Linked DNA regions of Homo sapiens: regions 1 and 2 are each linked to region 3. The links are contacts of gene promoters, found by promoter capture Hi-C in blood cells and fetal thymus (Javierre and others, 2016). All regions are on one chromosome and are shown on one strand. The core of a region is centred on a gene start or on the middle of the fragment in contact, and the rest is flanking DNA. Distances in the headings are between cores, read along the strand shown. Region 1 overlaps AMBRA1 (autophagy and beclin 1 regulator 1). Region 2 overlaps AMBRA1 (autophagy and beclin 1 regulator 1). Region 3 holds the start of CHRM4 (cholinergic receptor muscarinic 4).

Region 1 (3,030 bases), core at 85-2,584, 180 kb before region 3:
TGATTCTCCTGCCTCAGCCTCCTGAGTAGCTGGGATTACCTGTGCATACCAACACACCTGGCTAATTTTGTATTTTTAGTAGAGATGGGATTTCTCTCATGACCAGCCATGTTGGCTGGTCATTTCTCAACATGACTAGCCATGTTGGCCAGGCTGGTCTCGAACTGCTGACCTCAAGTGATACACCCACCTTAGCCTCCCAAAGTGCCGGGATTACAAATATCCATGAGCCACTATGCTCAGGCAGACCTTGCATTTTTGCAGATCTCTTTGGAATGCTATTTCTATAGTACACAGACTCTACTCTCACTGAATATGGCTAACTCAGCTATCCTACATTAGCATGGTAAACATCTGCTAGGTTTGCCCCAGTCAGAAAGTATTCTGTACCTGCCATCTTGCTTGGCACTTTATATATATATATATATATATATATTTTTTTTTTTTTAATCTCTCAGTGATATAGTGATAATAGGTGAAAAAGGTAGGCTGCAGGGTAATGTGTGTTATATATGATCCCATTTTGGTACAGGAAACAAAAACTATTATATGCATACATGTTTGTATGAACTATGAGTTTATAAGGTTATCTCAAGAGGGTAGGGTTGGAGGGTTACTTTTTTTTTTTTTTTTTTTGAGATTCCCTCTTGTCGCCCAGGCTAGAGTGTGGTATATATAATCCCATTTTGATTCAGGAAGCAAAACCTATTATATGCATACATGTTTGTATGAAGTATGAGTTTATAAGGTTATCTCAAGAAGGTAGGGTCGGCTGGGCATGGTGGCTCACAACTATAATCCTAGCACTTTGGGAGGCCAAGGCAGGTGGATCGCCTGAGGTTAAGAGTTCAAGACCAGCCTGGCCAACATGGCAAAACCCTGTCTCTACTAAAAATACAAAAATTAGCTGGTCTTGGTCGCACATGCCTGTAGTCTCAGCAACTTGGGAGACTGAGGCAGGAGAATCGATTGAACCTGGGAGGCGGAGGTTGCAGTGAGCTGAGATGGCGCCACTGCTCTCCAGCCTGGGCAACAGAACAAGACTGTCTCAAAAAAAAAAAAAAAAAAAAAAAGGTAGGGTTGAGGGTTCCTTTTTTTTTTTTTGAGATGGAGTTTTGCTCTTGTTGCCCAAGCTGGAGTGCAATGGTGAGGTCTCGGCTCACTGCAATCTCTGCCTCCCAGGTTGAAGCGATTCTCTTGCCTCAGCCTCCTGAGTAGCTGGGATTACAGGCATGTGCCACCACGCCCGGCTTATTTTATATCTTTTTAGTAGAGATGGGGTGTCTCTGTTGGTCAGGCTGGTCTCAAACTCCTGACCTCAGGTGATCCACCCACCTTGGCCTCCCAAAGTGGTGGGATTACAGGCATGAGCTGTTGCACCTGGCCACTTTTTTTTTGTTTTTTGTTTTTTGTTTTTTGTTTTTGAGTTTCTCTCTTGTCACCCAAGCTGGAGTGCAATGGCATGATCTCAGCTCACTGCAACCTCTGCCTCCTGGGTTCAAGCAATTCTTCTCCCTCAGCCTTCTGAGTAGCTGGAATTACAGGCGCCTGCCACCACTCCCGGCTAATTTTTGTATTTTTAGTAGAGACGGGGTTTCACCACGTTGGCCAGGCTGGTCTTGCACTCTTGACCTCAGGAGATCTTCCTGCCTCGGCCACCCAGAGTGCTGGGATTACAGGTGTGTGCCACTGCGGCATCCAGCTGGATTTTATTTTATTTTATTTTTTTAAGACAGAGTCTCACTCTGTCTCCCAGGCTGGAGTGCAGCGGCAGGATCTCAGCTTACTGCAACCTCCACCTCCAGGGCTCAAGTGATTCTTGTGCCTCAGCCTGCCAAGTATCTGGAATTACAGGCATGTGCCACCACACCTGGGTAATTTTTGTATTTTTAGTAGAGATGGGGTTTCACCAGGTTGGCCAGGCTGGTTTCAGACCCCTGATGTCAAGTGATCCGCCTGCCTCGGCCTCTCAAATGCTGGGATTACAGGTGTGAGCCACCGCGCCCAGCCCCAGCTAGGTTTTTCAAGTATAGTTTGGCACACGGCAGGCTAGGGAATGGGTGCTGCTGATTGGTTTGGGGTTGCAATCATAGGCACATGTGAAATGGTCCTTATGTACTGAGTCTGCTTCTGGCTAGGGGCTACAGAGGAATCGCTGGTTGGGGTGGGGTCATCTTGTCATCAGAAGTGCAAAAGTCTGAAAAGACATCTTAAAAGGCTGGGCACGGTGGCTCACGCCTGTAATCCCAGCACTTTGGGAGGCTGAGGCGGGCGAATCACTTGAGGCCAGGAGTTCGAGACCGGCTTGGCCAACATGGCGAAACCCCATCTCTACTAAAAATATGAAAATTAATGTGGTGGTGCCTGCATGTACTCCCAGCTATTTGAAAGGTTGAGCCAGAGGACTGCTTGAACTCGGGTGGTGGAGAATGCATTGAGCCAAGATGGCGCCACTGCACTCCCACCTGGGAGACAGAGCAAGACTCTGTCTCAAAAAATAAATAAGGCCGTGCTTGGTGGCTCATGCCTGTAATCCCAGCACTTTGGGAGGCTGAGGTGGGTGGATCTCCAGAGGTCAGGAGTTCGAGACCAGTCTGGCCAAAATGGTGAAACCACGTTTCTACTAAAAATACAAAAATTAACTGGGTGTTGTGGTGTGCACCTGTAATTCCAGCTGCTCGGGAGGCTGAGGCATGAGAATAGCTTGAATCCGGAAAGCGGAGGCTGCAGTAAGTCGAGATGGGACCACTGCACTCCAGTCTGGGCTACAGAGCAAGACTCTGTCTCAAACAAACAAACAAACAAACAAACACTACTTAATATGCTTACATTTTTATTTATTTTAATTTTATTTATTTTCTTGAGACAGGGCTCACTCTGTTGCCCATGCCAGAGTGCAGTGGTGCGATCTCTGATCACTGCACCCTCCGCCTCCTGGGTTCATATTCTTACATTTTAGCAGAGTTCAGGCCCCTCTCATAATCCTAAACTTGGGGCCTTTTATTAGTTTTACAATGGCGGTTTAGTTTT
Region 2 (3,056 bases), core at 128-2,627, 160 kb before region 3:
AAAATTAAAAAGTGAAAAAAAAATAGAAACTTGCCTATTAAAATTATTAAATCACCAATAATGCCACTACTGAGAGACAACCATGGTTAGTATTTATTGTATTTCTTTTGTATCCTTTTTCTCCTAATATTTTTTAAACAAAGTTGGGATTAATACTGCATATAGAATTTTGTGTTCTTTTTTCACTTAACATGTACTTACCGCATAATTTAATTTTTTTTTTTTTTTTTTGAGACAGAATCTCGCTCTGTTGCCCAGGCTGGAGTGCAATGGCACGGCTCACTGCAACCTCCGCCTCCCGGGTTCAAGTGATTCTCCCGCCTCAGCCCCCTGAGTAGCTGGGATTACAGGCGCGTACCATCACGCCTAGCTAACTTTTGTATTTTTAGTAGAGACGGGGTTTCACCATGTTGGCCAGGATGGTCTCGATCTCTTGAACTTGTTACCACCCACCTCAGCCTCCCAAAGTGCTGGGATTACAGGTGTGAGCTACCGTGCCTGGCCTTTTTTTTTTTTTTTTTTTTTTTTTTTTTTTTTTTTTGAGATGGAGTCTCACTCTGTCACTCAAGCTGGAGTGCAGTGGTGCCATCTTGGCTCACTACAGCCTCAGCCTCCTGGGTTCAAGCAATTCTCGTGCCTCAGCCTCCCAAGTAGCTGGGATTACAGGTGTGCACCACCACGCCCGGCTAATTTTTGTATTTTCAGTAGAGATGGGGTTTCGCCATGTTGGCCAGGCTAATACCGAATTCCTGACCTCAAGTGATCTGCCTGCCTCGGCCTTCCAAAGTGCTGGGATTATAGGCGTGAGCCACCATGCCTGGCCTCATTTAATATTTAATTTAATTTATTTTTTTGATTAATTAATTGGTTAATTTTTTTTTGGAGATGGAGTTTCACTCTGTCACCCAGGCCGGAGTGCAGTGGTGCGATCTTGGCTCACTACAACCTCCGCCTCCTGGGTTCAAGCGATTCTCCAGCCTCAGCCTCCCAAGTAGCTGGGATTACTGGTGCCTGCCACCACGCCTGGCTAATTTTTGTATTTTTAGTAGAGATGGGGTTTCACCATGTTGACCAGGCTGGTCTCGAACTCCTGACCTCAGGTGATCCGTCTGCCTTGGCCTCCCAAAGTGCTGAGATTACAGGCATGAGCCACTGCACCTGGCCTAATTTTTGTCTTTTTAGTAGAGTAAATTTTGTATTTTTAGTAGAGTAGGTTTTGCCATGTTGGCCAGGCTGGTCTCAAACTCCTGACCTCAGGTGATCCGCCCACCTTGGCCTCCCAAAGTTCTGGGATTACAGGCGTGAGCCATCGCGCCTGGTGTCGTTTAATATTTTAAAGAAAATTTTTGATAAAGATAACAGATTTACCTTTTTCAAAAACTAAAATTTCAGCACCTAGTGCAGTGGTTTGCACCAGCCTGGGCAACATAGCGAGACCCCATCTTTAAAATAATTTTAAAAGTTAGCTACTCTGGAGGCTGAGGCAGGAGGATTGCTTGAGCCCAGCACTTTGAGGCTGCAGTGAGCCATGATTGCACCATCGCACTCCAGCCTGGGTGATAGAGTGATACCCTGTTTCTTTAAAAAATAAAAATAAAGTCCCCACAAACTAACTAAAATTCCATTTCAAAAACACTGACAGGTATTAATCCATTTTTGTTTCCATTTATCTAGTCCCTCCAGTCCCCAGCGTGTTACCATTAGTTTTTCTTCTTATTCAAAGGTAGCTTTACTCGATATATTGTTTTGTACCTTGCTTTTTTTCTCTCGACAATATATTTTGGACATCTATTCTTTTTTTTTTTTTTTTTTTGAGGCGGAGTCTCACTCCGTCGCCCAGGCTGGAGTGCAGTGGCGCGATCTTGGCTCACTGCAAGCTCTGCCTCTCGGGTTCATGCCATTCTCCTGCCTCAGCCTCCTGAGTAGCTGGGACTACAGTCTCCTGCCACCACGTCTGGCTATTTTTTTTTTTTTTTTTTGTATTTTTAGTAGAGACGCGGTTTCACTGTGTTAGCCAGGATGGTCTCGATCTCCTGACCTCGCGATCCGCCCGTCTCGGCCTCCCAAAGTGCTGGGATTACAGGCGTGAGCCACTGCGCCTGGCCTGGACATCTGTTCTTATCAGTAGCCAGAGAATCTTCCTTGCCATAGATTAGTCATCCAGTACCCTTTAGATGGACACTTGGTTATCCTCAGTTTTTGCTATTGTAAGCAATAAGACAGAAGTAGTAACTACTCTGCACCAATTTTTAAGGGAAATTTATTATTTGTACAAGAAAGCCAGCTAATACATGTAGAAATAATGATAGAATTAGAAAATGAATATTTTCAGCATCTCCCCCCATTAAAAAAGTACAAGAGAGAATCATCAATGAATGCTAACCCATTAAGTAAAAAGTTGAGAAGTAATAGGATATTTACATGATGCCAAATAATTGCCACAGATTGCTAATTGTAAAGGGGGAGATATTCCTTTATAAAGAGAGGTCTGGCTCTTAACAACCTCAACCAAGTAATCATCTTTCTACAAATGATCACTAATGATGGTACAGTCTGAAAATATGTGCCACCTGATGTACTCCACCTTGAGGTATATAGGCACATCAACTGTGACGCACTGTCACCAAAAACATTTAAACTAATGAAGGTTTTAGACCTAACCTGCTGTTTACAGGAAATAAAGGTATAGAGAGGCAAGCTAAATGCTACTATGAGGAAACAATCAGTTGAGTCTAGGATGTAAGGCATTCTAACAAGTCAACTCTCCTGATCTTTTAGAAAAGCTAGTGTCGGCTGGGTGCAGTAGCTCACACCTGTAATCCCAGCACTTTGGGAGGCTGAGGCGGGTGGATCACCTGAGGTCAGGAGTTCAAGACCAGCCTGGCCAACATGGCAAAACCTGGTCTTTACTAAAAATACAAAAATTAGCTGGGTGTGGTGGCAGGTGCCTGTAATCCCAGCTACTCCGGAGGCTGAGGCAGGAGAATTGCATGAACCCAGGAGGCAGAGGTTGCAGTGAGCCGAGATTGCGCTGTTGCACTCCAACTGGGGCCACA
Region 3 (2,925 bases), core at 258-2,757:
TTTCCTTATTTGTGAAGTGGGGCAAGAAGAGTAGTGCTTCTTTCACCCCCAGTTATGAGGTCTTGGGAGACCCGATCATTCATGTAACAACAGAAGATGGCTTCCTACTCTAGCCAACCAACCCCAGCCCTGAAGTTCCCAATTCCGACCAACCCCAGCCGTCGCGCTCGCGAGCTCTGGGGACCCGAACTCCACTTCCGGGTTCCGCGCGGAGAACCCCACACCAAGAGCCCCGCAGCGCTGGCTTCTACTCGAGTTCCCTCCCATTCTCTGCCAAGAGGCTCCTGCCTCTCCTCCACCGCCGCCCCCGCAATCGCCCTCACCACCTCCGGCCCTCGGGGGAGGGTCTTGAGTTGTTTCCCCGAGAGAAGAAATCAGACGTCTTAAGCTTAATCAAATGTTTGCGATCAGAATTTGGGGTTACAGGCCTCGGTCCTGGGCGCAGTGGGGAGCGTCCGACCCCGGCGGTCCCCCGGAAGGGCGCTCTCGGAGGGAGACAAGCGCTGGAGCGGAATCAGGCAGGCGAGGCTGCTGGGCCAGGGCGCGGGGAGCTCTCCGAGGTGCTGAAGCCGCCCCAAGGTCCGCCCAGCCTGGGCGAGGCCCGGAGTCCTGAGGCTACGGCCCGTGCGGTTCCCAGCGACCTCTGAGATTGGCTGCCCGCTCTCCGGGATCTTGTCCCGGGCTCCGGCCCCGGCGACCTTGGGCAACCGACTGTCCCTCACAGGCGGCGGTGAACTGGCGGTCCAGGCTGCGCCTGGACTGGCGGCGCGTCCCATCCCAGGGCTGGGAGAGCAGGGGCGCGCCCCTTCCCCGGCCCGGAACGCTGAGCAGGCAGCCGAGCGGGTGCGGGCGAGTGGTCCGCGGTGGGCTCTTCTCTCCCCGGCCGAACCTCTCCAGTCCACCCGCTCCTGCGCTTCCCCAGGCCCCGACGGCGCCCCTCCTCGCGGGCGGCCCGGCCGGCACGCAGCGGCGCGGCTGGAGCTCCCGGCCCTCGACCCCGACGGATCCCTGGCGGCGCAGCCCGCCCCACCCACCCGCAGCCTCCCGCTGGGGTCAGACTCCCGCGCCTCGCGGCCAAACCGCCAGCGGGGCCACGCAGGGCGCTGAGGTCCCGGAGAGGCGCGAAAATAGCTCAGGGTCCCGGGAGTATGGTCAGGGCGGAGGCGGGAGCGCGGCCGGACCCAGCTGCCAGCTCCTTCCCCAGCCCGCGAGGGGGCGCCGCGTCCCCATGACAACGCGGACACCCCCACCCCCCGGAGGGCAGCGCCCCCTGCTCCCCTGCGTCGCTGGCCGTGGGCGGCGCCCTCTGTGCCCAAGCAGGGAGCTGCCGGCCAGCCCCCGAGAGGGGCGCGGACCGCCGGGGTCTCCGACGCCTCGGGTGTTGACCCCCGCGCGTCGCCGCCGGGTGACCGGCCCGGGGCGGGCGGCGCGGCCCCGCCACGATTGGCTGCTTCCTCGTGACATCACGCGGCTCGGGGAAAAGTGCGAGCGTGAGCGCGAGTCGGAGCCACAGCGCCGGGAGCTGCGGGCGGAGCAGGGGCCGCCCCTCGACACCCCGTCCCCGCCCCCGGCCCTCGGCCCGGCCGCCCGCCCCGCCGGCCCGCGGGGCCGCGCGTCCGTCCCGCCGTCTGTCTGGCGCGAGGGGAGCTGGGCAGAGGCGGCGGGTAAGTGGCTCCGCGGCGGCGCGGGGGCGGGGGGCTCGCCGGGAAGAGCAGGAAGCAGGTCCCCGGGACGCTCTGAGGCTCCCCAGAGGTGGGTTCGACTGGGACAGGGCGCCAGACCCCCTCCGGGGCGAGCGCGGGCCGGGAGCGGCAGTGGGCCGGGGCTGGGGGACCCCGCTGGAAGCAAGGCCGGGGGCTCTCGGAGGCTTCTCCAGGTGCGCCCGGGTGCGCCCGTGGGAAGGGGTGGGCATCCAGGATGTCGGGGGCGGGGGATTGCCCGCCCACAGACCCCACGGAGCCAGGGGCAGCCGTCGGGGGTGGGACCCTGTACTCCAGCCCTCCCACTGGCGGCTCAGCAGGGCGCCGGGCGCTGAAGCCCCAAAGAGCCCTTTTCCCGCCGTCTCCCCGCCCTCCCTCTCCCTCCACCCCTTTGCCCCCGCGCTGCCAGCCCACTCCGGCCCCTGGAGTCCTCCATCTACGACCTTGAGCCCCGACGGAAAACACCCCTGCCCTCCCCGACACCCCTCCCCCGCTCCGGTACTACCCCCCTTTGCTGCCCAGCCTCCAAGCCGGGGTCCTCCAGCTCCAGGCCCCCTCCTCCGGCCCCGCAACGGAAGTGTTGGGCACAATGTCGGTGCCAAATCTTCGCCTCTCCCTCCCTTGGACTCTGGAGTCTCCTCTCCCGCCCCAGGGACAGATCCAGGGGCCACAGCCTTCCCAGAGCCATGGAGTGAATGCCCAAGAACCGAAGACCTACACCCCAAACCACCCCACGGGCGTGCGGAGCACCCCCTCCGGTCTCGCCCGGGGAAGAGGGGTGTCGAGGACTCGGGAAACACAGTGCCCACGCCCAGAGGCTGCAGGAACTGCGTGCTAGGGGCTTGGAGGGAGGGCGGGGCACCCGAGAGCCAGGGCTCCTTCGACCACGGCGGAGACATGGAGGAGCCTCCAGATGGCCTAGGAAAACACGGCCCTCGAGGCCCGCCCGACCCTAGCGTGAGAAACTGGGTCCCCACTTTGGTCACAGGGGCTAGACAGTGCCTCTGGGGTAGGGTGCAGGGTGAGGAGAGAAGGAGGACAAGAGTCTTGCACTCGCCTGACCCGAGCTCTGTCCGGGCCTCCGCCTTGTGGGTGCACTGCGGATGCCCTCTCGCCGCGAGAATGGGCGGCTTTTGGCAATAACGCCTCTTAGGGGAGTTATTAGAGCTGAGCGTGCCTGGTGTCCCTCAAGGCCAGGTTGGGCGACTCTCGCAGAGGCCCCTCG

The links. Contacts are between HindIII fragments. The CHiCAGO score rates a contact against its expected background, and 5 or more counts as called.
Region 1: a fragment that was not itself captured here is called in contact with the fragment with the promoter of CHRM4 in region 3 in 1 of 17 cell types (megakaryocytes); the score reaches 5.3 in megakaryocytes.
Region 2: a fragment that was not itself captured here is called in contact with the fragment with the promoter of CHRM4 in region 3 in 5 of 17 cell types (endothelial precursors, megakaryocytes, M1 macrophages and 2 more); the score reaches 9.4 in endothelial precursors.

What each region holds. Positions count from the first base shown.
Region 1 is chr11:46,566,847-46,569,876 of GRCh38, reverse strand. All of the region lies in intron 1 of AMBRA1 (autophagy and beclin 1 regulator 1), which reads left to right. Among named protein-coding and RNA genes, the nearest start is that of AMBRA1, 26 kb to the left of the region's middle. The HindIII fragment of the contact is 3,778 bases long and covers 1-3,030 here.
Region 2 is chr11:46,549,854-46,552,909 of GRCh38, reverse strand. All of the region lies in intron 1 of AMBRA1 (autophagy and beclin 1 regulator 1), which reads left to right. Among named protein-coding and RNA genes, the nearest start is that of AMBRA1, 43 kb to the left of the region's middle. The HindIII fragment of the contact is 5,972 bases long and covers 1-3,056 here.
Region 3 is chr11:46,390,358-46,393,282 of GRCh38, reverse strand. It overlaps CHRM4 (cholinergic receptor muscarinic 4), which reads left to right and starts at 1,507. Exons shown (of 2, transcript NM_000741.5): 1 at 1,507-1,752. RefSeq lists enhancers at 1-493, 2,011-2,614, 2,615-2,925 and silencers at 1,147-1,196, 1,377-1,466. The HindIII fragment of the contact is 9,198 bases long and covers 391-2,925 here.